Regions from separate parts of the Homo sapiens genome. Here regions 1, 2 and 3 are each linked to region 4. The links are contacts of gene promoters, found by promoter capture Hi-C in blood cells and fetal thymus (Javierre and others, 2016). All regions are on one chromosome and are shown on one strand. Each heading gives the region's core, a stretch centred on a gene start or on the middle of the fragment in contact. The rest is flanking DNA. Distances are from core to core; before and after follow the strand shown. Region 1 overlaps RASAL2 (RAS protein activator like 2). Region 2 overlaps RASAL2 (RAS protein activator like 2). Region 3 overlaps RASAL2 (RAS protein activator like 2). Region 4 holds the start of RASAL2-AS1 (RASAL2 antisense RNA 1).

Region 1 (7,615 bases), core at 1,853-4,352, 230 kb before region 4:
GAGACCAGCCTGACCAACATGGAGAAACCCCATCTCTACTAAAAATACAAAATTAGCCGGGCATGGTGGCACATGCCTGTAATCCCAGCTACTTGGGAGGCTGAGGCAGGAGAATTGCCTGAACTTTGGAGGCGGAGGTTGTGGTGAGCCGAGATTGTGCCATTGCACTCCAGCCTGGGCAACAAGAGTGAAACTCCATCTCAAAAATAAATAAAATAAAATAAAAAATTAATTAGATATTTTCTGAGACATAAACTTTTAGTACAATAATCAATTCTGAAATAGCAGAGCATTATTATAAATAAAATGTAAATAGTATACAATAAATTTTGAAAGACACATACATACTAAAAGGTGACTTCTTAGAGTCTAAAAACATTTCTTTTGAAAATCCACTTATTATTCTCACTTATGAGGGATAATTATGAGGGAGGTAGATTTCTGCTAATGAAATTTTGAACCTATTCTCTTATTCCCTGATGGGAACTGATACCATATACCTTTGATATATGATTCATTCTTTCTAATGTGGAAAACATATAATCCAGCCTTTTACATGGGTACATGAGATTCTGCAAAATTAATTTTTCTTGGGAAAGTTAAAAAAAATTCTTATTTATTTATTAATTCATTTCTTTATTTTTAGAGGCAGGGTCTTGCTCGCTCTGTCACCCAGGCTGGAGTGCAGTAGCATAATCGTAGCTAGTGTAGACTATATAGTCATAGCTATATGTAGAATCAAACTCCTGGGCTCAAGTGATCCTCCCACCTCTGCCTCCCAAGTAGCTGGGACTACAGGCACACACCAACATGCCTGGCTAGTTTTTTTATTTTTTGTAAAGATGGGGTCTCATTATGTTGCCCAGGCTGGTCTCAAACACCTGACCTCAAGCAATCTTTCTGTTAAAGTGCTAGGATTACAGTCATGAGCCATGGTACCCAGCTAATTTTAACTTATCAACTGCAGTAACACATTTAGTTATAAAAGCTCATCTTTTACTGTAACTCTATACTGTATCAGTGATGCCAAGCCTTATTAGAAGAGGCCAAATTTTCTCTTTTCTCATATTCTGCATACAGTTTCTTTCAGGGAGCCTATCTACCACTATGAAACTTTCTAGCTTTTAGTGGCTACTCCAAGGCTATTTCTATCCAACTGTTATATGCACTGCTAATGATATTCTGCTTTTAAATGTATTTTTTTCTCTTCTTATTTTAAGTCACACCCAATGTATTATCTCATTAGCTCTATCCCTAGCTCATCTAGTTCCTAATACATATATCTGAATGAATACTTCTCTACAATTCCTACCTTTAAAAATTAATTACAAAAGATTTGTTTAAATAAGTTTTTGACTCTTCGGTGGCACTACTCTGATTAAAGTGGGAGGGAAAAAACCTAAAGGCCTTTAAGAGGAAAAAATGAACTGATAATTATCTTTCCTCTATTACTAGTTCTCTTTCTAATTCACTCGCTTTTACTTCCTTCTCATCCTGTGAATTCATGTTCTAGACACTATTTTCTACCTTGAATTTTTCCTATGTTATTCTCTACTCTTCAGAGTTAGAAAGAACACGTCAAACACAGACAAAATAGGAATGTTGTAAGGAGAATTTTTTTAAAAAATGAAATGAATGGAAGCTTCCTGTTGTGCTATATTAAATATCAATCAAAATGAGGAAACATGTTAACATGCAAATATCTGAAGACAACAGGAAAAGAAAATAGGCTTTAAATTTTACAGAAATAAAAGTAACCAGAACAATCCAATGAACACAACAGCTTTATGAGAAACTAGGGAGCTTTCTTGGTTAAGCATTGTTACTAGAGAGACCAGTTGGCAGGTGGGTGCCAAGGGGGTCATAACAAGCCAAAAACTTCATTCCTTGAGGCAGTTAGAGTCTGTTTCGCACATAAAATTAAACTAGATTTTCCACCAATCTGATTTATAAATCCTTCTGCTTGAAATGTAAACTTAAAAGGCTTTGGTAAACAGCATAGCCAATCTTGGGCTACCTAAAAAGAGAGCCATATGCACATGTACAATTAAACGATATTTAGCTAATTTTGCTCAATTTATCTGAATTACTTATTTTTCCTTTCAGAAAAGGTTCTGGGCAGTCAAGGGCCTAGGTCAAGTCTCCAAATATATTTCAAGATGCATTGTAAACAAGCCCACTCCCATCTTTCTACCTTCATTACATAACAGACTGGTGAATTATGACTATACTTTAGAAGAAAGGAAGTGCAAGTGAAAATGGAAAAAAACAAATGGGCAAAGTCACAAGATACAGAGATAGAATGCTTTAAGATGTCACACCTCAAATTTCTTTTCTTTTTTTTTTTTTCCTAGAGATCGAGTCTTGCTCTGTCACCCAGGCTGGAGTGCAGTGGTGTGATCTGCAGCCTCAAAATCCTGGACCAAAGCAATCCTCCCACCTTAGCCTCCCAAGTAGTTGGGATTACAGAAGTGAGCTACTATGACCAGCTTCAAATTTCTTTAATAGCTTAAACCTGTCCAAGCAAGATGAGAAACATAACACCTAGTCTATTATCTCACTGGTTCCATGATTTTATGAGTCAGAGCGAACTGAAGTTTGGCTCAAATCAAAGTTTATGTTATTGCTCCTGCATTCTTCTTTTGAATCATAATAAAAATCTCATCCAACAAGGAAGCTGAGGTTCAGAGTTAATGATGAGAGCATATGGAATTTGAATCCAGGTTAAGACAACTTCAAAGCTGGTGCCATTTTCCACTACCCAGCACAGTCACTGGTAAAGGTATCCTTCCAGACAGAATGTGTTCTAGTTACGGGTATGCATTTTCTTTCCTGAAAAAGTAAACCCTCTATCTGTGAAATAACTGCTAAATCTTCTTGTGTGGTTTTTATATACTAATTAATCTCTTAACAACCTAATACATGTTTTTGTTATAAATAACCTAATATTCATTTTGTGAAATGCAGCAAAAAGGATAAAATGGTCATTTCCTTTCATTAAGATACTTCATTTTCTCTTATCATTCTCTATAAATATAAGAAATTAATAAAAGTGATTTACTATTAATAAAATCTTAAAAATAAACACAAATATCTTGCTCACTAACACAACTATGGTTATGATATTAACCAACAGCACGGAGTTCAGACCTGACATTCACAACCAAGTACACTTGATACTGTGACTTGTTAACTTGGACAATGGCATTTACCAACTTTGTATTTATCAAAACCAATAGTTGTGATTATACTGCTTATAGTCCTGTGGCTGTGCAATGATATTTAGTAATTCTCTAATTTCATTACTAAACGATTTTCTCTCAAGTGGGTATGGTTTTCCCTTCAGGATAAAAAAAAATTACCCACATCTAAGATTATTTTTCACTTTGACATGCTCCACCTGAAAGTCAAGAAAGAGTTTCTCTAGTATGTCTCATATCAGTCATTTGCTCAACAATCAGTCACTCACTCAGCCTGCAGTTATGTACAAAACAACCTGCTATGGTGATACCAAGGTGAGTAAGATACAATCTTGCCATCTAAGAGGTTCCAATCTAGTAAAGATGACACATACCAACAACTTACTGAAAACATAAGAACATACATCCAAATATCAGAAGTACAAAAAGTACTGTTTATCACAAACAAAAATGCTAATGAATTCTGATTAGTGAATGAAGAAAAAGATTGCCAAGAGTTAATATCTTATTGGTCCCTTAGGATAAATGGGATTTCTACATACAGAAGGTAGAAATGAAGGTGGAAAAACAGAGCAAGATATTCCAGGTTTATGCCCTATGTGAACAAAAGCCCATGTGTATTGAGAATGCCTAGGGAATCTGAAGCAGTCCTATGTGGCCAGAACCCAGAATACATACCTGTGGTGGGTAAAAAGAAAAAAGATGATCTTAAAGAGCTAACTCTCAGTCAGAATATATAGGACGTTTAGTGTCACTGTAAATTTGAACCTCATCTTATAGATCAGTGGAGATACAGTAAAAGTGTTTAAACAAGGAAAGTAGTATGATTCAATTAGTGCTCTAAGATGACAAAAGAGCAGTGAAATGAGTTAATACAGAAGGATAAAAATGGAAACAGGAAAAGATATATGAGTAGCTATTCAGATATTTAGGTAGAAATAAAAGAGTAATGTAAAGTTAGAATGACTAGAAGGATGGTGGTCATATTAACAGAACCAACCACCACATGAGAACAGGTTGTTGGGGAGGGAAGGAACAAAGAAGGGAAACTAATCAAAGATAATGGCTTCAGTTTTGAACATTCTAGTACAGACGACCAGTTGGGAATTCAGGTCTGGAACTGAGAAGAGACGAGGAAGCCAAAAATAGAGATTTAAAAGGTACTGGCCCAGGGATGACATTTGGAAACATGAATATAGGTGAAGTCAACTACTGAGAAAGGACAAAGCAAAAGAAAAAGGGTAAGGATAAGACCTTTAGACATCTGCATTTAAAAAGTGGGAAATATTTTAAAAAGTACGGTGAGGCAGGACATAAGCAATAGAGGAAAAAATGTCACAGAAGTCAAGAAAGAGAAGCTTTAAAGGGAAGTCGATCATTAAAAACCACGAAGAGAGTTAGAAGGTGATGAGGACTAAAGTTATGAAACTTGGCCAGATGCAGTGGCTTGTACCTGTATTCCCAGCACTTTGGGAGGCCGAGGTGGGAGTATCACTTGAGGTGAGGAGTTTGAGACCAGCCTGGGCAACACGGTGAGACCCCATCTCTACCAAAAAAAAATTTTTTTTTTTTTTTGAGATGGAGTTTCGCTCTTGTTGCCCAGGCTGGAGTGCAATGGCGCGATCTCGGCTCACCAAAACCTCCACCTTCTGGGTTCAAGCAATTCTCCTGCCTCAGCCTCCCGAGTAGTTGGGATTACAGACATGCACCACCTCACCCAGCTAATTTTGTATTTTTAGTAGAGACGGGGTTTCACCATGTTGGTCAGGCTGGTCTCAAACTCCTGACCTCAGGTGATCCACCCGCCTTGGCCTCCCAAAGTGCTGGGATTACAGATGTGAGCCACTGCACCCGACCTACAAAAATTTTTTTAAATAAAAAAATTATCTGGTTCTGGTGGCACATGCCTGTAGTCCCAGCTACTAGGGAGGCTGAGGCAGGGGAGGATCACTTGAGCCTAGGAGGTCAAGGCTGCAGTGAGCTATGATCATGCCATGCGCCACTGCACTCTAGCCTAGCCACAAAGCGAGACACCAGCTAAAAAAAATAGAAAAACAAAAAAGAAAAAAATAATGAAGTTATGAAACTTATTATCAAATCTCTGATAGTTGGGGGTAATTTCAGTGGCAAATAAAGCCAGATTTCAGGGTATTGAAAAAATTATTAAAAAATTATTGAGGCGGGGCGCGGTGGCTCACGCCTGTAATTGCAGCACTTTGGGAGGCCGAGGTGGGTGGATCACCTTAGGTCAGGAGTTCGAGACTAGCCTGGCCAACATGGGGTGAAACCCTGTCTCTACTAAAAATACAAAAATTAGCCATGCATGGTGGCAAATTCCTGTAATCTCAGCTACTTGGGAGGCTGGGACAGGAGAATCGATGGAACCCGGGAGGTGGAGGTTGCAGTGAGCCAAGATCAAGCCACTGCACTCCAGCCTGGGTGACAGAGATGAGACTCCGCCTCAAAAAAATAAATAAATAAAAAATTATTGTGCACAGATAAAGTACTTTTTAGAAAAGGTTGGTGAAGAATGGAGATAGCCACTAACGTGTCAAAACTTTCACAATCTGCTAAAAACCAGCTGATATACTGAAAACTTAGAATGTGCTTGTTACCGAAGAGGATGTTAACTGACTCAGTGAATGAGAGCTTAACTGGGAATAACTCAAGTGTGCCATTTTGGTTTTAACTTAGTTTCTAAATTGAGTAAATTTTACGAATTAAATAGTCATAATAATAAAGTGAGGGGAGGAGCCAAGATGGCCGAATAGGAACAGCTCCGGTCTACAGCTCCCAGCGTGAGCGAGGCAGAAGACGGGTGATTTCTGCATTTCCATCTGAGGTACCGGGTTCATCTCACTAGGGAGTGCCAGACAGTGGGCGCAGGTCAGTGGGTGCGCGCACCGTGTGCGAGCCAAAGCAGGGCGAGGCATTGCCTCACCTGGGAAGCGCAAGGGGTCAGGGAGTTCCCTCTCCCAGTCAAAGAAAGGGGTGACGGACGCACCTGGAAAATCAGGTCACTCCCACCCAAATATTGCGCTTTTCAGACCGGCTTAAAAAACGGCGCACCACGAGACTATATCCCACACCTGGCTCGGAGGGTCCTACGCCCACGGAGTCTCGCTGATTGCTAGCACAGCAGTCTGAGATCAAACTGCAAGGCGGCAGCGAGGCTGGGGGAGGGTGCCCACCATTGCCCAGGCTTGCTTAGGCAAACAAAGCAGCCGGGAAGCTCGAACTGGGTGGAGCCCACCACAGCTCAAGGAGGCCTGCCTGCCCCTGTAGGCTCCACCTCTGGGGGCAGGGCACAGACAAACAAAAAGACAGCAGTAACCTCTGCAGACTTAAATGTCCCTGTCTGACAGCTTTGAAGAGAGCAGTGGTTCTCCCAGCACGCAGCTGGAGATCTGAGAACCGGCAGACTGCCTCCTCAAGTGGGTCCCTGACCCCTGACCCCCGAGCAGCCTAACTGGGAGGCACCCCCCAGCAGGGGCACACTGACACCTCACATGGCAGGGTATTCCAACAGACCTGCAGCTGAGGGTCCTGTCTGTTAGAAGGAAAACTAACAAACAGAAAGGACATCCACACCGAAAACCCATCTGTACATCACCATCATCAAAGACCAAAAGTAGATAAAACCACAAAGATGGAGAAAAAACGGAACAGAAAAACTGGAAACTCTAAAACGCAGAGCGTCTCTCCTCCTCCAAAGGAACGCAGTTCCTCATCAGCAACAGAACAAAGCTGGATGGAGAATGACTTTGACGAGCTGAGAGAAGAAGGCTTCAGACGATCAAATTACTCTGAGCTACGGGAGGACATTCAATCCAAAGGCAAAGAAGTTGAAAACTTTGAAAAAAATTTAGAAGAATGTATAACTAGAATAACTAATACAGAGAAGTGATTAAAGGAGCTGATGGAGCTGAAAACCAAGGCTCGAGAACTACGTGAAGAATGCAGAAGCCTCAGGAGCCGATACGATCAACTGGAAGAAAGGGTATCAGCAATGGAAGATGAAATGAATGAAATGAAGAGAGAAGGGAAGTTTAGAGAAAAAAGAATAAAAAGAAATGAGCAAAGCCTCCAAGAAATATGGGACTATGTGAAAAGACCAAATCTACGTCTGATTGGTGTACCTGAAAGTGATGGGGAGAATGGAACCAAGTTGGAAAACACACTGCAGGATATTATCCAGGAGAACTTCCCCAATCTAGCAAGGCAGGCCAACGTTCAGATTCAGGAAATACAGAGAACGCCATAAAGATACTCCTCGAGAAGAGCAACTCCAAGACACATAATTGTCAGATTCACCAAAGTTGAAATGAAGGAAAAAATGTTAAGGGCAGCCAGAGAAAAAGGTTGGGTTACCCTCAAAGGGAAGCCCATCAGACTAACAGCGGATCTCTCGGCAG
Region 2 (6,825 bases), core at 2,394-4,893, 140 kb before region 4:
ATTTTCATAAATTTTCATTTAAGATAAATTCCCAATATCCTCTCCAGCAACACATGTATACATTATTTACTATGAAAATTTGACACTTGCTTTAAATAATTTAAAGTGGTCTTTTTTCAATGCCATTTGCTTTTGGATAAAACATCCCTTTATATTCTTGTATTTAAAATAAAGTCTAAGGCTAAGAAAAAAAAACTGGATAAAAATAAGAAAATGGACCTATTGTGTTTAAATGAATGTTCTTTATTGGTAAAGAAATACAATAAACACTAACATCTGAAGTGATAGGGTTTACAGGAAAGTATTAAGTTCCTTTTGGCTAAACAAAATGATACATCTAGAATTCTATGAACAGGAAAGCATTATTCAAAGAAATACTGTCTACATCTAGGGACTAATAACAATATCTGCGGTATCACTAACAGTCCAATAAATTGAAATAATAGGCTAGAGAGGATTAGTAAGCCAGCAACTCCATAATTTCCACTAGCAACTGACCTTGTTCACTGTGGACAACATATGTTCATAAAACACTGTGCTTGAAAAGCAATGCCCTAATGTTACATCACAGGGCAAAAAGTAATTACAAAAGTTTATATTAAAGACAAAATAATCAAGTATAAAAATCTGTGTAAAGGCAAATATTTTATGTTTTATTATAGGCTAAGGGATAGCAAGGCACCACAATGTTAAAAAATTTATAAAATAAAAATTTTAAATAAAAATACCATTCATCTGTTTTTAATAAGCTAGGAAAATACCTTTATTACCTTATTTCAGGGGCAGAACACCTCCATCCAGCTCAAGCTTTAAGAACCATGGTTTAGGATGCCATCAAGAGGATAGAGGTAAATAAAACTTAAATACTAGAGTATCAGTGCCTAACGTGTCCACATATTAGAATCATCACACAATCTTAAACGTATTCCTTACTCTTAGATTCTGGCATGTACTACTGTGATATATGGATGGTGTCCATGAGGTAGTGTCCTCAAAAGTCCCTTGGATAGAGAGTAATGTCTAACCACTTTGAACTAAAAATGTTTATTATAAGTTGCTTAAAATACCACACTACTACTTGGAAACAGTAATCATGCCTTTCTCAAAGAAAGATTTATTAAATAATAGAATCACTAAGTACCAGTGACAACTATCATTATTTTACACATATTGTGAGTGATTTATTGCATATTATTCTGCCAGTTGTATAACATCTTCACTAGTATTTACAATATATCTACAGTATGTAAACCATTGCACTAAACATACAACAGGCATGGACTCTGACTTTCCTTTTAAAAAAGCTTGGATCTGGGAAGAAAACCCACAAATGCTGACAGTAACTCTTATGTTCTAACCACCAGATACCACTTTACTTCAGAACAACAAACCACACACATAGCTTTCAAAATACTCTTTAGTTTGACCAAGGTTATGGTTATATACTATGCTAAATTATATGAATCAATATCCCTTAAGATTCAAACTATTTTGACATTTTGGTGACAAAATCTAAAAACATAGATAGAATAGGGTTTCTACTTTGTAAAGGTGAATAAGTAATCATCCTTAAATCCAGAAATTAGAGGCAAAATTTTTTTAAGACATTTCAATGAAAATTCCACATGAGAATGACAGGAAAAATACCTGTGGTTAACTGACTCAAGCTCAGTCACTAAGAACCTGTGTACTCATAAGGATACGGTTTCATAATCATAGATCCAGAGTCATTACTCATCTTACTCTTCTCTTTGCTTCCTCACAAAGACAAACTGGCCTTGAGTGTGAGAAACCAAATAAAAACTTGCCTGAGGCAGATAAATCATTCCAGGATGACAATCATCCTGGAAATGCAGACAAATCATACTGTTCATTGTAATCAAGCTACCAGTTGAAAACTCTAGATCACATTGAACTATATTTATATTTTGAGCAGAGGTGTGGGAAATTACTAACTACAGAAGGTATTTGACTAAGACTAAAATTTTATTTACATATATATATAGTGATTGCTAATAGGTACTTGAGGTGATCAAAGTGTGTGTGTGTGTGTGTATATACACACATACACACAGAAATATTTTACTGAATGAATACACGGATATAAAACAATAATAAAGTAGCAGCACCATTACATGTTCAGATAACAAATGGAAAATTTAATGTGACTTAAGGTCACAAAACACCAAATCATTATTCTGGAGGCAGAATACACTGTTTGCAAAATACAAGGGTAAATGCCCAGGCGAAATGAAAACATATGTTCACGTAAAAATTTGTTCATGAATGTTCATAGTAGCATAATTAATAATAGCACAAATGTGGAAACAACCCAAATGTCCACCAAATGATGAATGTATAAATGAAATATAGTATATCCATACAATAGAAAGTCAGTGATAAAAAGAAAGTACTGCTGCTATAACATGGAGGAGCCATGAAACCATTATGCTAAGTAAAAGAAGCTAGACACAAAATGTCACATATTGTAAAATTCCATTTATATAGCATCTATAAGCAAATCTATAGAGACAGTATATTACTGATTGCCTAGGTCTGATGGATGGGACCTTTAAGGGTAAACAGGAATTGCCTGCTAATAGGTATTTGGTGTAATGAAAATGTTCTAAAATTGTGGTGTGCTTGTACAGCTTTGTAAAAATACTAAAAATAAACTGTACAAAAGAATATTATGATTCCACTTATATGAGGTACTTGGGAATCGAATTCATAGAGACAGAAAGTAGAATGGTGGTTACCAGGGCCTAGGGTGAGGCAAGAATGGGGAGTTAGTGTTTAATGGGTACAGAGTTTCAGTATGTGAAGATAAAATAGTCTGGAGATGGATGATGGTGATGGTTGAACAACAATGTGAAGCTACTTATGCCACTGAACTGTACACCTAAAAATGGTTAAAGTGGTAAATTTTTTGGTATGTGCATGCTATCACAATAAAAAAGTAATTGAATTGTGTGTATTAAGTAGATGAAATACGTTATGTAAGTTATATCTCAAAAAAGCTGTTAAACAAAAATAAATAAGGTGTGTATGCAAGTATATGTAAAAGTAAGAATATTAAAGTTACCACCACATTGGTAAACTCCAAGTCTATACTCGTAAACCACTGGCTCTGTTAACAGACACTGGTTAGACTGGAATAAGATGTCCAGATGTGTTGAGGCTGGGATGCTAGTCTCAACATTCTCATTACTCTCCCACTATATCCCTAGCCTGTGTGATTTCACCCACTCCTGTGGCTTCAATGTCCATGGGCTGATGGCTTCCAAATGTATATCCTCATATGGGAACTAACCTCTGCTGCTAAACTCCTGCCCCTTTATTCCGCAATACTGCTTGAAGCGATGCTCTCAAGTTCCTGAAAAACTCTCAAACATCATGTGTTCAAAGTGGGCCCCCAAATGGAGGAGCACAGAATCATAAGAGACCTAGGACCCACAACTTACTAGCTGTGTAGTCTTGGAGAAGTAACTGAAACTTTCTGAGGCTCTAATTCCTTACTTTTAAAATGAGAATAACACTCCCTCGCAGGATTATTCGGAGGATTAAACCAGATAAAATGCATTTAAAGTACTCAGGGAGGCTGGGCGCGCTGGCTCACACCTGTAATTCCAGCATTTTCGGAGGCTGAGGCGGGTGGATCACCTGAGATCAGAAGTTCGAGACCAGCCTGACCAACATGGCGAAACCCCATCTCTACTAAAAATACAAAAATTAGCTGGGCTTGGTGCTGTGCACCCGTAATCCCAGCTACTCAGGAGGCTGAGGCAGGAGAACCACTTGAACCCGGGAGGCGGAGGTTGCAGTGAGCCGAGATCGCACCACTGGCCTCCAGCCTGGGTGACAGAGCAAGACTCTGTTTCAAAAAAAAAAAAAAAAAAAAAAAAAGTAGTGTCCAATATAAAATATCACAGATTAAGTTTTGCTCATAAGTAAAAGCTAGAGAAGCCTAGTGTTTTGTGCAAGTTATACCCTAAAGTTTTAAACAGTGAAATAAACTACCAATCATAATGCTTAAAGCAAACCCTTTCTGTTTTTTGTTTTCCTTTGTTTTTTAAGACTTCCTTGGAAAACAATGAGCAACTGAAAACCAAGGAATTACTAATCTTTATAGGCTTGAGAAGCAAAGAAATGACCCAGTTGCCACATGGATAAAAAATAACACTTGGTTGACTAGTAAAAATTTGGGGTGATTATTAGACATTCTACAGGTTTTTAGTGGCTAGTCTAAGCTCTTAAAATCCAGAATCTCTGATTTTTGGAAACCAAGTGTAACTGCAAATTCTAAAGCTGAGAGACAGGTACATGGTTATTACAGTATCATACCTCTACGAGGACCATCATAGTATATACTTATGAAGAGATAAATTCTATTATAGGTTGGGGTAGCTTAGCCCTCAAGATTATTAGGCATAATCTAAAAAACCAACAACTTTATAGCTGATGTAACAATTAGCTACCATGACCACACTGGGTCAGATCCTTTGCACCTAATATCTGAACAAAAGAGACTATCTTCTGGTTATCTGAAGGTTTGGTAATCAATAGCTTTCCAATTCCAGTATCTGGAAAATGAGCATTAAAAAAATACTGGTAGGCAGGAGAAAGTAGGATAACAACTAGATAATCTTTTTTGGAAAATTATTTCCAAATAATTTGGATTTTAAATAAATAAATTGCCTCAGAAACTTTATTCATTAGGATACTAGCTCTCGCCTATAAATTCACTTAATTTGCTAACTCAGTGAATTCAACTTTAATTACTTTCTCTTAGATAAGAAAATCAAACTAGTCAGTTATTTGGTAGTCTTTTGCTTGTGGGAAATAAGGGATGAAGAAAGGCTCACAACTGCAAAAGGTTAGAAAACCACTGATGTAGACACTAGGCCAGAAAGAAGTTACTGCCAAAAGAGAAAAGGAGACCTCTGCACAGGCACTTGATCCGGTCTTTATAATAAACAGTACATTTCAGTCTTAAGAGCTTAATCCCCCCTCACTTGCACATACATACCCATACACACACACAGACACACACACACACACACGCACACGAAGCACTTAGGAGATAGCGGAGTAACTGTTTTATAAATGTTGTTATGTTACTGGTAGGACACTATGCACTGTTTTTTCGTTACTGGAATCGAAATTCCTTGAAATAGCACCTTAAACTTAAACTCTGTATGTGCTTCCATATACATATTATTACATTTTATATTTCCTTAAGTAGACCATATATGTGTAAAATGCAGGGACACCTTCTCACAGCACCTCACACATTGTAGACAGTCAAAAATAGCTTGGTATACTTGCTAAAAACTGAAAGTGCACTATCAAAGTCCAAAAATGATTATAAATGCAAAAATTTAAAGTATTGCTTCTTTTATCAAATGCACACATGCTAACCATTGAGAGGAACTGATTGTAAGATTTTAAACTCTTAATTTCCTTTGACATTCTTTTACTTTGATCACCTTATGATCACCTGGCAAGGAAACAGACATACAAGTATCCAAGAAACTGAAACAACCAAGTCTTTCAAAAATTTTAATGGAATGTTAATAGAGGCACATCAAGGAGGAAGATTTTCCTCTAGGTAATTATCTATTTGCCAAGAGTAAGGAGAAAATATATATGTTTAAGAGTATCACTAAAATTCACTGAGCAAAGGAACATCTAGGGAGGACAGGGTTTATAGAAAATACTTAATTTTTGGCATACATTAATTTGGAAAATTACTTCAGTTTTCACTGAAATGATCTCATTAGCATTCTTCAACTTTATTTTAAAATAAATTAAATTATATTTCAATAACAAAATTCTTCAACAATTCTCACAGTTTTAGAAAGGGTTTAAACCTTTGATGATACGTTCAATCTCCTAATAATGAGAGGCTGAAATTTTCTTAATGGTAAGAGCTTCTCAAAAAATGATCTCAGCTGGTCATGAAGATACTACCAAGCTTCCAGTGCTAAGGTTTTTTAAAAAACATAGGCCCCAAGTCATAACCAAAATTGTTCACCAGATAAGGTCAACCATTTTTAAGGCAATCAGTTAAAAAAATTAAGCACTGTGGGCTTTTTGGCTTTAACAATGCTATAATCAATATGAAATAATTTTTAAATTTTAAAAAGTCCCAAATAAGATTTTTAAAAATTTGACAATTCTATTGTCTTAAATGAATCAAACACAAATTTCTATTTTGTCATCTAAACAAATATTCAAGATTTGCATGCTTGGCTTCCATATTCAAATGGAGTATTTTATGATACAAGCAAATTAAAATCCCAACTTTTTAAGAGCTATCAGTGTAATTCTGCTCTACATTTCTCACTAATAACATTAATTTAAAAATAATGTTTATGAAGAGATAACAGTAGAAATACATTTTAAATTCTCAACAGTCATGACAAATTACTTGAATATTTTCCCCTCCAAATTGCACTTAACCTGGAAAAGTAGATCAGTGGAGACAAATGAGCATTAAAAATAATTTTTTCACATGTGCTCCAAAATTGAGTTCAAGAATTAACAACATAAAAATATTCCTTAATTAACCAAATCCATTCACTTCTTGCTATTACTATAAGTCATTAAAAGGTTTCTGAAGCAGTGATGATCACTTTTTTAAAATTGTGCTAATTAAATATATTTGTTTTATAATGAGAAAATGAAATGTTTCACCTGATTATAAAACAAATAATTAAAATTTCAACAGTAACTAAATCTGAGCCATCCCTTTTTTCCCCTTATTCATTGCAATATACCTTCTCTTACTGGCTCATTGGTTGATTCTCCTTTTAGATTCAG
Region 3 (6,679 bases), core at 1,219-3,718, 210 kb before region 4:
CCACAATGAGATACCATCTCACACCAGTTAGAATGGCAATCATTAAAAAGTCAGGAAACAACAGGTGCTGGAGAGGATGTGGAGAAATAGGAACACTTTTACACTATTGGTGGGACTGTAAACTAGTTCAACCATTGTGGAAGTCAGTGTGGCTATTCCTCAGGGATCTAGAACTAGAATTACCATTTGACCCAGCCATCCCATTACTGGGTATATACCCAAAGGACTATAAATCATGCTGCTATAAAGACACATGCATACATATGTTTATTGCGGCACTATTCACAATAGCAAAGACTTGGAACCAACCCAAATGTCCAACAATGATAGACTGGATTAAGAAAATGTGGCACATATACACCATGGAATACTATGCAGCCATAAAAAATGATAAGTTCATGTCCTTTGTAGGGACATGGATGAAATTGGAAATCATCATTCTCAGTAAACTATCGCAAGAACAAAAAACCAAACACCGCATATTCTCACTCAAAGGTGGGAATTGAACAATGAAAAAAATTTGATGAATCAAAATCTATGTCAAATTTAGTATCCTTGGTAACTGTAAACTGCTGAATGCAACAGTCGGAGAACTCTTGTCAATAAGAAGTAAATTCTGTGCTTAAGCACTCCCTTCTTCTTCCCCATACACATTTGTCTCAATTTGCTTATTTGGAAACAAAATTCTGGATTTTCATCTTTCCTCTTTAGTTCTTCCTTTGCTAGTGCTACTTCATCTTCCTAACCTCTAAATGTTGTCCCAGGGCTTAGTCTTTGCATTTCTTCTGTCATACATTCTAATAGGAATGTCATTAAATCTCAGGGTTTTAAATATCATCTATTTGCCAAAGGCTTGCAATTTGTATCTGTAGTCTGTACCTTCCCCTTTATTTCCAAATTCATATATCCAACAAATTTCGACTTGGGGGTCTAATAATACCCTCAAACTTAACGTGTGCAAAAATTGAGCTGCTGGTCAATCACACTTTCAAACTAGTTTCTCCCAGTCTTCCCACTTTAAACAATAGTAACTTCATTCCTGTAGCTGTTCTAGCCAACATTCTTGAATATTCTATTTCTCACTTTCCACATCCAATCCATTAAGCAAATTCTGAGTTCACTGTAGGTGTGTGGATTTGTTTCTGGATTCTCTGTTCCACTGGTCTGTGTGTCTGTTTTTCTGCCTGTGCCGTGCTATTTTGGTTACTATACCTCTGTACTGTAATTTGAACTCAGGTAATGTGATTCCTCTAGTTTTGTTCCTTTTGCTCAGAATGACTTTGGCTATTCAGGGTCTTTTGTGATTCCATATAAATTTTAGTATTGTTTTTTCTATTTCTGTGAAGAATGTCATTGGTATTTTGATAGGAATTGCACTGGATTTGTCGACTGCTTTGTGCAGTATGGACATTATAACAATATTGATTCTTCCAACCCATGAACATGAAATATCTTTCCATTTGTTGCCATCCTCTTCAATTTCTTTCATCAGTATTTTATAGTTTTCATTGTAGCGATACTCACTTCTTTGGTTAATTCCTAGGTACTTCATTTTACTTGTGGCTCTTGTAAATGGGATTACTTTTTAAATTTCTTTTTTTCAGATTGTTCACTGTTAACATACAGAAATGCCACTGATTTTTGTATGCTGATTTGGTATCCTGTAACTTTACTGAATTTGTTTATCAGTCCTAACAGTTTTTTAGTGGAGTCTTTAGGTTTCTCCAAATATAAGATCGTATCATCTGCAAACAAGAATAAGTTGGCTTCTTCCTTTCTAATTTGGATGCCCTTTATTTCCTTCTCTTGTCTGACTGCTCTAGCTAGGACTTCCAGTACTATAACAAATAAGAGTGGTAAAAGTGCACAACCTTGTTGTGTTCCAGATCTAAGAGGAAACGCTTTCAGTTTTTCCACAGGCAAACGTTTAAGAAGAATTGTCTCCATTTGCTGTTTTGATTTCCTTATCACACTATCTTCTCAACTCATTTCAGTAGGGCTTCTGCTGCCACATACCATTAAAACTACAGTTCCTAAACTTACCAAGAACCCTAATGTCACTTAATCTAATGTGTGGTTTTTGTTTTGTTTTGTTTTTGAGACAAGGTCTCACTCTGTCGCCTAAGCTAGAGTGCAGTGGTGTGATCTCAGCTCACGGTAGCCTCAACCTCCCAGGCTCAAGAGATCCTCCCACTTTAGCCTTCAGAGTAGCTGAGACTACAGATGTGTGCCACCATGCCTGGCTAATTTTTTTATTTTGTAGAGATAAGGGTCTCACTATGTTGTCTAGGCTGGTCTCATACTCCTAGACATAAGTGACCCTCCAGCTTCAGCCTCCCAAAGTGCTGGGATTATAGGTGTGAGCCATCACACCTGGCCTAATGATTTTCGTTAGTCCTCATCCTAGTGGCCCTTTTGGTAGCATAAAACAGAGTTGGCTATATAGTTCTTAATCCTCCCTACTGTGTACTTTGTAATAGTATAGACCACTTATGTGACAGTACAATTTAGCTTGTTTTTCTTTGTCTTTTTAAAATTTTCTTTAAGTATAACACACATATGCTCAATGAATTATCACAAAGTGAACACACCTGTGTAATTCCTACCCAAGTCAACAAACAGAACACCACTGGCACTCCAGAATCCACCTTTATATTTCTCCCAATCACTATTCATGCCTCCTCCCCAAAAGTAACCACCATCCTAATAACTAACACCATAGATTAGTTTTAACGGTTTTGGAACTTGATATAAACGGAATCAGACAGGATGTACTAATTTGTGTCTGTTCCTCAGTGAACTCTTCGTTAAAATATCTGTTCAAGCCTCTTGCTCATTTTCTACGAGGAAGCATTTATATATACTAGATAAAAGCCCTTTGTTCATTATAGGTGTTGCAAATATATTATTCTACTCTGTGGTTTGCCTTTTCATTCTCTTAATGATGTACTGATTGACAGAATTCTTAATCTTAATATAGTCCAATGTATCAATTATTTCCATTACAATTTGTGTTTTTTGTATTGTTTAAGACAAACTTGTCCAACCCACGGTCCATGGGCTGCATGCAGCCCAGGATGGTTCTGAATGCAGCCCAACACAAATTCTTAAACTTTCTTAAAACATTATGAGATTTTTGCATGAACCTTTTTTTTTTTTAAGCTCATCAGCTGTCGTTAGTGTTAGTGCATTTTGGGTGTGGTCCAAGACAATTCTTCTTCTGATGTGGCCCAGGAAAGCGAAAAGATTGGACACTCCTGACTTAAGAAATCTTTCTTTATCCAAGATCATGAAAATATCCTACACTATTTCTAGAAGTTTTATTGTATTATCTCTCTTGTTCAGATCTTGGAATTGATATTGTGCATGGTTATAAGGTCACTATCTTATAGGTCAATTCCTCCTCATTCCCACCCCACTCCAAAAAGATATGTTATTGAGCCAGCACCAATGACTAAAAAGACTGTCTTTTCTCTCACTGCCGTGAGGGAAATGTCACACCAAATGTCCTTATATATGGGATAACTTCAAGACTCTCTATTCTATTTCACTATTCTATTTGTTTATTCTTCCACCAACACACTATTATACTTTGTTTTTTTTTGAGATGGAGTGTCGCTCTGTCTCCCAGGCTGGAGTGCAGTGGCTCAATCTTGGCTCACTGCAACCTCCACCTCCTGGGTTCAAGCGATTCTCCTGCCTCAGCCTCCTGAGTAACTGGGACTACAGGCACATGCCACCACACTCGAGACAGGGTTTCACCATATTGACCAGGCTGGTCTTGAACTCCTGACCTCGTGATCTTCCCACCTTGGCCTCCCAAAGTGCTGGGATTATAGGCGTGAACCACTGCGCCCGGCCTATTATACTTTTTAAACAGATCTTAATACTAGTAATTAAGTCTTCTCACCTTGTTTTCTTCTGCTGTGGCTATACTTGGTCTATGGCATTTCGAGATGAATTTTAGAATCAACTTGCCAATTTGTATACGTGTATGTGGTGGTAAGGATGGGGACAGAAATTTTGAAATTCATTGAAATTTTGATCTTAAAGAGAACTGACATTGTATTAAGTCTTCTAAACCATCATCATGGTATTTAGCCCTCCATTTGTTTATTTAAATCTTTTTTTCTTTTATGTTTTAAAGTTCTCTATGTAGAAGTCTTTCACATCTGTTATTAGATCTTTTCCCCTAGGAATTTGTTATCATGATGCTATATTAAACAGGATATTTAATTTTTTTTGTTTCCTGTTTATTGCTAGTATATAGACAATCAATTTTTGTACACTAACTTATATTTTAGTTTCTATGTATATTCATCCTATCTTGCTAACTACATAAAAAAAATGTTCTAAGAGCAGAAATCTTATACTTCTTTTCACTCTTAGCGACTGGCATAGAATGTTACATATACAGCAATTATTCAATGAAATACCTGACAGCAGAAATTTTGGCTAAAGACAAATCACTTGGAGATAACAATAAAAAAACAGAACAATTATCTAATTCAAGATTAGACTGGCATGTAAGGAAGAATGGCTCTAGAAGTAGTGTTTTTCCCTATAATATTTACGAGGATAGCTTTTAGTGCAAATTTAGGACATTTGCTCATGGACTGTCCATGAGTCAGAATGGCTACTGGACTTCTTGTTAAGCACAAAAGATAAGGACTGGCTCTAGACCAGACACTTTTGTCACCTTTAGTTTGTTTTTGGGGCCAGTACCTCGAACACTGTAGATATTTAACAATTTCCTATATAGTTCTCTCTTCTATAACACTGCAATAATTCTTGAGACTATAGTTGTACTTCCTCAAAATCTATTGACTTTTATGGGTCAAAACTTGAAGAGCGAAAGGTTCCTAGAAAATTGGTAAAGACAATAGTCAGGCTGGGCGCAGTGGTTCATGCTTTATTCCTAGCACTTTGGGAGGCTGAGGAGGGCAGATCATCAGTGGTCGGGAGTTTGAGACCAGCCTGGCCAACATGGTGAAACCCTGTCTCTATTAAAAATACAAAAATTAGCCGGGCATGGTGGTGCATGCCTGTAATCCCAGCTACTTGGGAGGCTGAGGCAGGAGAATTGCTTGAACCAAGTAGGTGGAGGCTGCAGTGAGCCAAGATCACGCCATTGCACTCCAGCCTGGGCAACACAGCAAGTCTCTGTCTCAGAAAAAAAAAAAGAGAGACAACAGTCAACATATCATTGCAAATAATGAAAGCAAAGGAACTGAAAGAAGGTGACTCTAAGCCAGTTCAATTTACATAGAACTTGGATGTGAAATATAAATAGGCTATAAAATGGTTACACCCAGACAGGTTTTTAGTAGAATTTAGGCCCACACCTAAACTGGTTTCAACACATGTTAAAGAAGTATAGTGGAAATAAGATGAGAGAAAAATCTGACTTCTCCAAGGTGGCTCCTTGGAAAAAAGTACTTGCTAACTCAACTAATTTCTAGGAAAGCAACAACTATTACACAATAAAAAGAAAAATAAAAGATTCAAATTCTGCCCAAAAGGATTCAAATTCCAGCCAAAAGCTCTGGGTTCCACTTAGAAATGAAGAAAAAGGCAACCCCCTCCAAAATCCCAAACCAAACCATGATTTTAGAAAACACAAACAAAATTACAGAATTATCCATACTGATCACCATAGAGACAATAAATGATTTCATCTACTTATCAAATGTCAAAAGTCTATGGTTCACTAAGCAAATAATAACACAACAATATAAAGCACCAAAACAATTCCTACTTTTCAAATTGCTTCATTTTTCTATTTAATCTTAATTATGTTCTTTTAAAATTACCTGACCAGTCTGATTATTTAAATATCCATTATTAAAAATGAAAACATTTAACAGAATACATTTGGTAGGGAATGGGAGAAGAGCTAGCTGCTTTGATATTGACATTAACTCCTTTAGTATATAACAATGGAAGTAAGGTTTCTTTAGTAACCTTACTGGAAAAATGGAAGTAGGATTTCTCCCTTTTGTCACCCACTCCAACCATAGTCCAGCATATGACTTTTATGAGACATGCAAGATTAACTTAGCTAAATTAGCCTGATCTAATATTACATCATATAAGACAACACCAGTAGCTACCTGAACAAGACACATCTAAACCACTTAATACTAAGTTCCAACACATACTGCTCCCTTATGAACCTCAGTGCTTCAACAAGATCACCAAATACTCTCTCAAAATCTACAGCTGAGCAATAAACCCAGAAGCAACACATTATCCCATCTGCCTAGGACTAAACAGCAACCTTACTAGTGCTCACATAAAGTCTTTCTCTTTAAAATAACTTTGCTGTCAGTTGGTTATAAAGAACAGAACTCTCTAATGACCTCTAACTCTCGCTTAACGTGCCATTGATTTCAAAGCACTTACTTAACAGGAAATGCAGGATGTTCTGTTTTACTCAGTAACAAGTCCATAAATTATGGGATAAAAGCTAGGAATTTATTTCCTTTTCATAGTAGCTTACCCAGTTTAGTGGCGCCCTCTGGTGGGTACTCGGGAAACTGACCCTCGGAAGGGACACTGACAGTTCTCCTCAGGCATCGCCCTTTGGTGGAATCTGTCTGCTGCTCCTGTCCCCCTTCCACAGGTATCTAGTTAATCAAAAGCAAAAGATAAAACTTAATAGTGAACTCACCATAAC
Region 4 (7,608 bases), core at 821-3,320:
CTGGGTGACCTTGCATCGTCTCCCACTCCTTTGCTTTAAATCTTCCGGTACGTAGAGTAACATCAAGAAACAGCCAGCAAAATACAAAGTGGTACACAAATCCTTAAGAACTGGTTATAAGAAGAATTCCTGGATTTTTATGATTAAAAGGGTCACTAGTGATGATTTAATCCAATCCACTCACTTTACAGATGAGGAATCACAAGCCAAAAATGTGACTCGATCTGCCCCAAATCCCATAGCCATTTAGTGGTAGAACTGAGACAAGAACTGAGATCTCTGGACTCCTAGTTCTATGATCTTTGCGATGGACATTAAGTCTTCAAATCAACTGAACTACACAGAAAAAAACCTAAGTCTTGGTCACTCTTGAATAGTAAGCATATACCCTGTTCAGAAAGATGAAAGAAAAAAACATAAGGTACTTGATCACTACAGGCTTAGATGCACAAGACTGCAGGATAACATCTTAACATTGTGTTTGATCCCAGGTGCTTCAAATTTGCCATCTTATACTCAGCCACGTTACTAATGTCTTCTGCAGTCACGTGAGCTAGGCGATAAACATCTTGCCGTTTCAATATTTTGGAAAGCCACAGCTCAGTCCTGAATGCCAGGCTATAAATCCTTAAGCTATGAGTTTTCAAAACCAGCATGGTTTTAGTGCTGCCACAAGGCTCACCCTAATAGAATCTCATCATTCAGTTTTAATTAAAGAGGTGGTTACCAGGAATGCAGAAAGGGAAAGTTTTAGTGTGTTCATCACTTTTAACCTGCTGAGTGGCAACCCAGTCACTTTACAACGAGATTCAGAAACAATAGTGTAATCTGAAACAATCCACACCCGTTGGAATAAGTGGTTGCTTTTAGAGAGAGTGAGGTTCAGGCAGAGGTTATAGATTAGTCTTGCTCCCACCAAATACATAGTTTGCATTTTTTTCATTCATTAGCTTATCCTCTGCTTTTTCATAATATCTTGGTTTCCAGTCTTGCCTCATTCAACAATAAAAAGAGACGAAAATCCATTCACTTGGTTTCATGGAGTTTTTCCATCATACCTTCTTGAAGATTGATTGCCTGGCTGTTCCCTTGAAGTAATCGCCTAAGAATTACGTCTTGGATAGCCCAACTCCCGCATTAAACTTACTGCAGGTGTCTGAAGAGGTCCAAAGACCATACTGAGTGACATCCCTGCCCAAGTGATAGTCTGAAGAAACTTGTCAGAAATGCACCCCCAGAACAAAAAGGGATGTGGGAAACTGACCTAGCACGGATGAGGACTGGGAATGAGCCTGTGACTTAGGGAATGAATTTCAGCCCAAGCAAAAATAGGAAACACCAGCCTCTAAGACGGCCTGTGGTCCTTACCGTACACCCGGACCCAGCTCTGTTGCTGGCACACGGACTCCAGAAGGATCCGATCCAACATGCCACCGGCGACGGCTCCACTGACTGGGACAACCGCGTCCAGGTCCTCCGGGGGCAGCGGCGAGTCGGACTCCAGCGCCGGGAACATCTCCGGCCAGGACAGCGCCTCCGCGGCTCCTCCGGACGACGGAGAGAGCTCCATGGTGCCCCGAGGCGGGAGGGGGACGAGGCGGCGGCTTCGGGGCGGGCTGGCGCGCGGCTCCGCGCCCTGCCTGCGGTAAGGGGAGGAGGAGAGCGCGCAGCGAGGGCAGGGACCCGAGCGGCAGCCGGCGCGGACACCTCTCACCTCCTTCCCCGTCGCCCACTGCCCGAGGCTCGGGCGATGCAGCCCACCTGCAGTCGGCGGGCGGGACCCAGGCCGGGAGGAGGATCCAGCGTGGCCCCGACCAAGGGTGGGTCCGGGCTCAGGTGTGTGTGGGTCCCTCCCGGGAGAGGACGCAGAAGAACCCGGGAGGGGAGGCTCGCCCTCCCACCTCCTCGGAGCCGCCTTCTTCAGCCCCGCCGGCGTCTCTCGCGGTCAGACCAGGCTCTGGCTGGGGATGGAGCGGGGCCGGGCAGGGCTGGGCTTGGGGGCGTCGCCGCCAGGGGCCGCCCCCTCTGACCGGCTCCCGCCGCCGCCGCCTCAGAAGCTCCGAGTGCCCGTTCCCTCAGCCTGAGGAGGGGTAGGGGGCGGTGGCCCCGGGTTCTAGCCCGCCTGTCCTCGGCCCCCACTTCTGGAATGAGCCTGCCCGCCCCCTGACTCTCAGGCCACAGCTCCGGCCACAGCTCTGGCTCCTGCTCCGCGGCGGATCCCACAAACCCGGCAGCCACGGCGGTGGCGGTGGCGGTGGCGGTGGCGGTGGCGGCGGCGGCGGCGGCGGCAGCGGCAGGCGGCATCCCAGGGTGATAGGCTGAAGCAATCGAGGGCCGAGAGCCCGGCCGCGTGTGCACTCGAGTAACGAAGCCGGGGAGGGACTGCGCCGCAGGCAGGAAAAGTCGGACACCGAATTATTCATCCGGCCTGTCCCGCCTACTTTCCAAGTACCCTCCCAGGGATAGCCGGGTATTGAGCGGTCCGGGTCTCTGCTGCTCAAAGTAAAGACCGTTTGAGAAGGCGGGGAGGTAAAAGGGTGCGGGAAATTTAAACAGAAAAGAAAGGAGCTTCCCTTCCTTCTCACACCTTTCCTATTTATTTGTTTCTTTCTTTCTTTATGGGCCAACGTTTCTTTCTTATTGGACAAAGAGATCGAAGAAGCTGCTTTATCTTACAGTCACCCAAGGGGGAGCGCCTTCTTCCTTCCCAGAGTGGAGTGGCAGTGGGTCCGGGATTCTGGGATATGCACAGGGTCTGCGCCCTGCGCCCTGTCCGCGCTGAAGCTGAACTTGTCATTGGTTTGCAACAGCATGGTGAAGAAGTGTGGTGTGGATGGACGGACGGGCCTCTCAGGCACATGAAATACTCAAAGCCCAGTATTAACCAAACATGTTTCTCTGTTTTGTCTTTGATCTTTGTGCAGTGTGTTGGCTTTTTTCCTTTAATGATGTCACTTGTATTTTATTTTTGGTTTATTTGTAGACTGTCTCCCTCCTTGGCCATGGCTTTACTTTTATGTCCACCCAAGGAGAGTTTCACCAGTTTAGGTTTAAGAAATTACTGACAAGTTAACAATAATAATTTCAAAATTGAACAGTAATAACTTAAACCGTGCCTTGGACATAGTAGATCTCCAACAGTTTTTCTTGAATGTGGCTACCTAATGTGGAACAAGATTTTTCATAATTACATGTTGCTATTTTTAATACCTTTTGGGAGGTTCTTTAGTCCCCCCCGCCCTTTCTCCCTACGTTGCACAAAGAGACTGGTCTACAAGGGGTCCTGTTAGTTTTCTGGTTTTGTGGGGTCCTGGAATATTGTTTGGGCTTATTGAGAGTTAACAAGGATGTATTTTGTGAGTTTCTCCAAAGTCTTATTTAGAGTAATAGTATTTCAAAGCAAGAAGTGTTTTAGAGAGAACATCATTCTGCCTCTTGTTTAACAGGTGAGGAAACTGAGGAAAAACCAGCTTACCTGGCTAATCAACCACAAGTACAGATAGTTCCACAATGACTCAATGGATATTACTTCAACTTTGTTCCCTCAAGAAACTTTTGTGATTAAGCTTGTTGATTTGTGGCTTGATGGTTTACAGGAATGGTCATTTTTAATATCTAGGACCCTGCTTGCTTGCTTGCTTGCTTGCTTACTAGACTGGCTGCATAGTCAGTCTTCCACGTGTAAACAACAGTGTGTGCTTTAGTGGATAAGAGATGTTGAGTGCTGAGATTTCAAGGCTCAGCACTGAGTAGACCTAGAGCATTTTTATTTATACTAAATTAATGCCATGGTAACATAAGTTAGACAGCAAGTGAATATGGCATCAAATGTACAAAGTTGAGTATCTCTTTACTAGTCAATGTATAAGGAATTTATTTACCCAAGCAATTATCTTAAAAACAGCATTACAAGTGGTATGCGAAACATTTCCAGAATTTATTTCCACATCTGCTCTTTCAGTGGCATCATCCATTCCTGAGCTCAAGAAAAGGCCTCTGCCAACCGCCAGTAATCCTGCTTTTTTAGTAATCCTACTATTTTTTTTTTAACTTTAAGTTCTGGGATACATGTGCAGAACATGCAGGTTTGTTACATAGGTATACATGTGCCTATGTATACCTATGTAACATGGTGGTTACAGTAAACATGGTGGTTTACTGCATCTATCAACCCGTCATCTAGGTTTTAAGCCCTGCATTCATTAGATATTTGTCCTAATGCTCTCCCTCCCCTTTCCCCCACGCCCCGACAGGCCCCAGTATGTGATATTACCCTCCCTGTGTCCATGTGTTCTCATCGTTCAACTCCCACTTATAAGTGAGAATATGCAGAGTTTGGTTTTCTGTTGTGTTACTTTGCTTAGAATGATGGCTCCCAGCTTCATCCATGTCCCTGCAAATGACATGAACTCATTCTTTTTTATGGCTGCATAGTATTCCATGGTGTATATGTGCCACATTGTCTTTATCCAGTCTATCATCGATGGCATTTGGGTTGGTTCCAAGTCTTTGCTATTGTAAATAGCACTGCAATAAACATACATGTGCATGTGTCTTTATAGTAGAATGATTTATAATCCTTTGGGTATATACCCAGTAATGGGATTGCTGGGTCAAATGGTATTTTGGTTCTAGATCCTTGAGGAATCGCCACAGTGTCTTCCACAATGGTTGAACTAATTTACACTCCCACCAACAGTGTAAAAGCATTCCTATTTCTCCATAGCCTTGGCAGAATCTGTTGTTTCCTGACTTTTTAATAATCACCATTCTCACTGGCGTGAGGTGGTATCTCACTGTGGTTTTGATTTGCATTTCTCTAATGACCAATGATGATGAACTTTTTTTCATATGTTTATTGGCTGCATAAATGTCTTCTTTTGAGAAGTGTCTGTTCATATCCTTTGCCCACTTTTTGATGGGGTTGTTTGTTTTTTTCTTGTAAATTTGTCTAAGTTCCTTGTAGATTCTGGACATTAGACCTTTGTCGGATGGGTAGATTGCAAAACTTTCTCCCATTCTGTAGGTTGCCTGTTCACTCTGATGATAGTTTCTTTTGCTGTGCAGAAGCTCTTTAGTTGGATTAGATCCCATTTGTCAATTTTGGCTTTTGTTGCAATTGCTTTTGGTGTTTTAGTCATGAAGTCTTTGCCCATGCCTATGTCCTGAATGGTATTGCCTAGATTTTCTTCTAGGGTTTTTATGGTTTGGGGTTTTACATTTAAGTCTTTAATCCATTTTCAATAATCCTACTTTTTAAATCCAAACGTTCCAGATACTGGTCCCTGCTTCACCTCCCTATCCTGACCCCAGACTAGCAGCAGGTCATTATCTAATTGCCTAAGTAATAGTATGTCTGAAATTTATCTAGTGTTCATAACTTAAAAATAAAATACTTTCACAGGCCAGGCATGGTGGCTTACACCTATAATCATAGTGCTTTTAGAGGCTGAGGCAGGAGGACCACTTGAGCCCCAGGAGTTTGTGACCAGCCTGGACAACATAGTGAGACCCTCATCTCTACAAAAAAATAGAAAAAAATTAACTGGGCCTGGTTGCAAACACCTGTAGTCCCAGCTACTCAGGAGGCTGAGGCAGGAGAATCACTTGAGTCCAGGAGTTTGAGACTGCAGTGAACCATAATTGCACCACTACATTCCAGCCTGGGCAACAGCATGAGACCCTGTCTCAAAAAAAAGAAAAGAAAGAAAGAAAATACTTTCACAACCTGAACAATAATTCTGTGAGATAAGTAGAACCAGTATTTTAAAATCATCATTTAGAGAATTTAAAAAAAAAATTAAGCATAGAATTGTATTAAGCAACCTACCTAAACATGGCTACTTAGGAGATTGAGATTAAAACTCAAGTCCCCTAATTTTTAATTTCATTAATAGATCTGGATTCCTGAAGAGTGTTTTTCTTTGGTGTTCTGACATTTGTAGAACCAAAAATAATATTTCATGGTTTTTGCAAATTATTATCATTTAAGAAAAATATCCCAAAAAATATTGAAGAAAAAACAAAACAAAAAAGTTGGAAACCAATTTGCATTGCTGGGAGGCAGTTAATCCTACTTGAACTTACACCAGTGGTATCTCCCCAGAGCCAACCCAGATTTTAATGTGAAGATAAATCCTTGGCTGATGAAGTCTTAGTTAACACTGTAGTTTGCAAACAGTCCTTTATGTGTGAACTACAAGAAAGCTCTCACACCCCTGCCTGCCTTCTCCCCTCCTCTTTCCTCCAGGTTTCAAGCTCCCAAAGGTGATCTACATATTTACTATCATTGGAATTCATAACATCAAGAATCAGACCCAAGTCCCCGGAGAAGTGGGAACTAAAAATTGGGTAACTATCGAGGAGAAGAAATAATAGTTTTCCTATGTCTAAAAACAAATGCTGGCACAAATCTGAGGTTTCTAAAAGACAGAAAGAGGCCTTTGGTTCTGAATACACATTGCCAGTAATAAAGAGAAGTATACATTACCAATAGTCAATAATAAGGGGAGATGAGGGTTTGGAATCTTGGCTGTCACAAAACTGAGGTCCGGGTATGGGTCCAGTTTTCTTCTTCATTCACACACACACACACACACACACACACACACACACACACACACGAGGTTCCCTCTTCACAAATGCTGTTAACTATTTTCTTTCCTTTTAAGGCAGGGCCTTGCTCTGTCGCCCAGGCTGGAGTGCAGTGGCATGATCTTGGCTCACTGCAACCTCCACCTCCCAGGCTCAAGCAATTCTCCCACCTCAACCTCCCAAGTAGCTGGGACTACAGGTGTGCGCCACCATGCCTGGCTAATTTTGCATTTTTTGTAGAGACAGGGTTGCCCCATGTTGCCCAGGCTGGCCTCAAGCTCCTGGGCTCAAGTGATCCACCTGCATCGACTTCCCAAAATGCTGGGATTACAGGAGTGAGCCACCGAGCCTGGCCAGCTATTTTCTTATAGCCAGTCCCTTCTAGACTATGTATGCCCCACCTCTAAGCAGCTAATCCCCAAAACAGTAATGCAATTTTTAAACTGGTTCGCCAGCTCCTCCCTTTCAATATCCTCTCTCCCTTTAGACACGTTTATGCAGCACTCTCCTGATTATAACACTGACTATGCCCAGTCTATCATAAGGAAGAATTCAGACATTTCCCAAGATTCTGCCATCTGTCTTCCTCTCACCTCACTCCCTAAATCCCTGGTGATCTACCCACTTCTGTGATTTCAGCTGTCACTTGGATAATGTTGACTTTGAGAAACTCATCTCCAGCCTTATCCACAGTACTAGGGTCCTATCAGGAGTTTTTAAATGTTGAACACCTCCAACAAAATATGCTTCCTGGACTTCCAACTCAATGCATGGAAAGTGACATCTTCATGATCTCCTTACCCCTTGCCCAACCACCCTTGCCTTCTTGAATTGCCTTTTTATGTTAGTAAAACTAGTGGGTTCTGTCTCAAACTTGCTTATACATGGAGTTACTTTTGAGTCCTCTCCTCCATCCTAGCTTGCATAAATCCAACTCATGCTTTGAATTCGTATTGACACTGTCCTAGCTCAGACCTAGTTAGCTTTCACGAGGATTATTGCATTAGCTTGTTA

What was found. Contacts are between HindIII fragments. The CHiCAGO score rates a contact against its expected background, and 5 or more counts as called.
Region 1: a fragment that was not itself captured here is called in contact with the fragment with the promoter of RASAL2-AS1 in region 4 in 4 of 17 cell types (M0 macrophages, M2 macrophages, M1 macrophages and 1 more); the score reaches 5.8 in M0 macrophages.
Region 2: a fragment that was not itself captured here is called in contact with the fragment with the promoter of RASAL2-AS1 in region 4 in 4 of 17 cell types (M2 macrophages, M0 macrophages, M1 macrophages and 1 more); the score reaches 8.5 in M2 macrophages.
Region 3: a contact is called between a fragment that was not itself captured here and the fragment with the promoter of RASAL2-AS1 in region 4, in 4 of 17 cell types (M2 macrophages, M0 macrophages, M1 macrophages and 1 more). The highest score is 10.8, in M2 macrophages.

The regions. Positions count from the first base shown.
Region 1 is chr1:178,319,149-178,326,763 of GRCh38, reverse strand. All of the region lies in intron 3 of RASAL2 (RAS protein activator like 2), which reads right to left. LOC105371629 (a long non-coding RNA gene) reads left to right here. Exons shown (of 3, transcript XR_922306.3): 3 at 2,355-2,676. Among named protein-coding and RNA genes, the nearest start is that of CLEC20A, 170 kb to the left of the region's middle. RefSeq lists an enhancer at 5,636-6,231. The HindIII fragment of the contact is 2,916 bases long and covers 1,645-4,560 here.
Region 2 is chr1:178,233,838-178,240,662 of GRCh38, reverse strand. The region is part of intron 1 of RASAL2 (RAS protein activator like 2); the gene reads right to left. Among named protein-coding and RNA genes, the nearest start is that of RASAL2, 140 kb to the right of the region's middle. The HindIII fragment of the contact is 4,673 bases long and covers 1,307-5,979 here.
Region 3 is chr1:178,299,942-178,306,620 of GRCh38, reverse strand. It overlaps RASAL2 (RAS protein activator like 2), which reads right to left. Exons shown (of 18, transcript NM_170692.4): 3 at 6,503-6,629. Among named protein-coding and RNA genes, the nearest start is that of CLEC20A, 190 kb to the left of the region's middle. The HindIII fragment of the contact is 8,677 bases long and covers 1-6,679 here.
Region 4 is chr1:178,088,455-178,096,062 of GRCh38, reverse strand. It overlaps RASAL2-AS1 (RASAL2 antisense RNA 1), which reads left to right and starts at 2,070. Exons shown (of 2, transcript NR_027982.1): 1 at 2,070-2,502; 2 at 2,651-4,555. RASAL2 (RAS protein activator like 2) reads right to left here and starts at 1,959. Exons shown (of 18, transcript NM_170692.4): 1 at 1,369-1,959. The coding sequence starts at 1,570. RefSeq lists silencers at 1,521-1,580, 1,731-1,890, 1,961-2,260, 2,311-2,360 and an enhancer at 1,982-2,483. The HindIII fragment of the contact is 4,675 bases long and covers 1-3,568 here.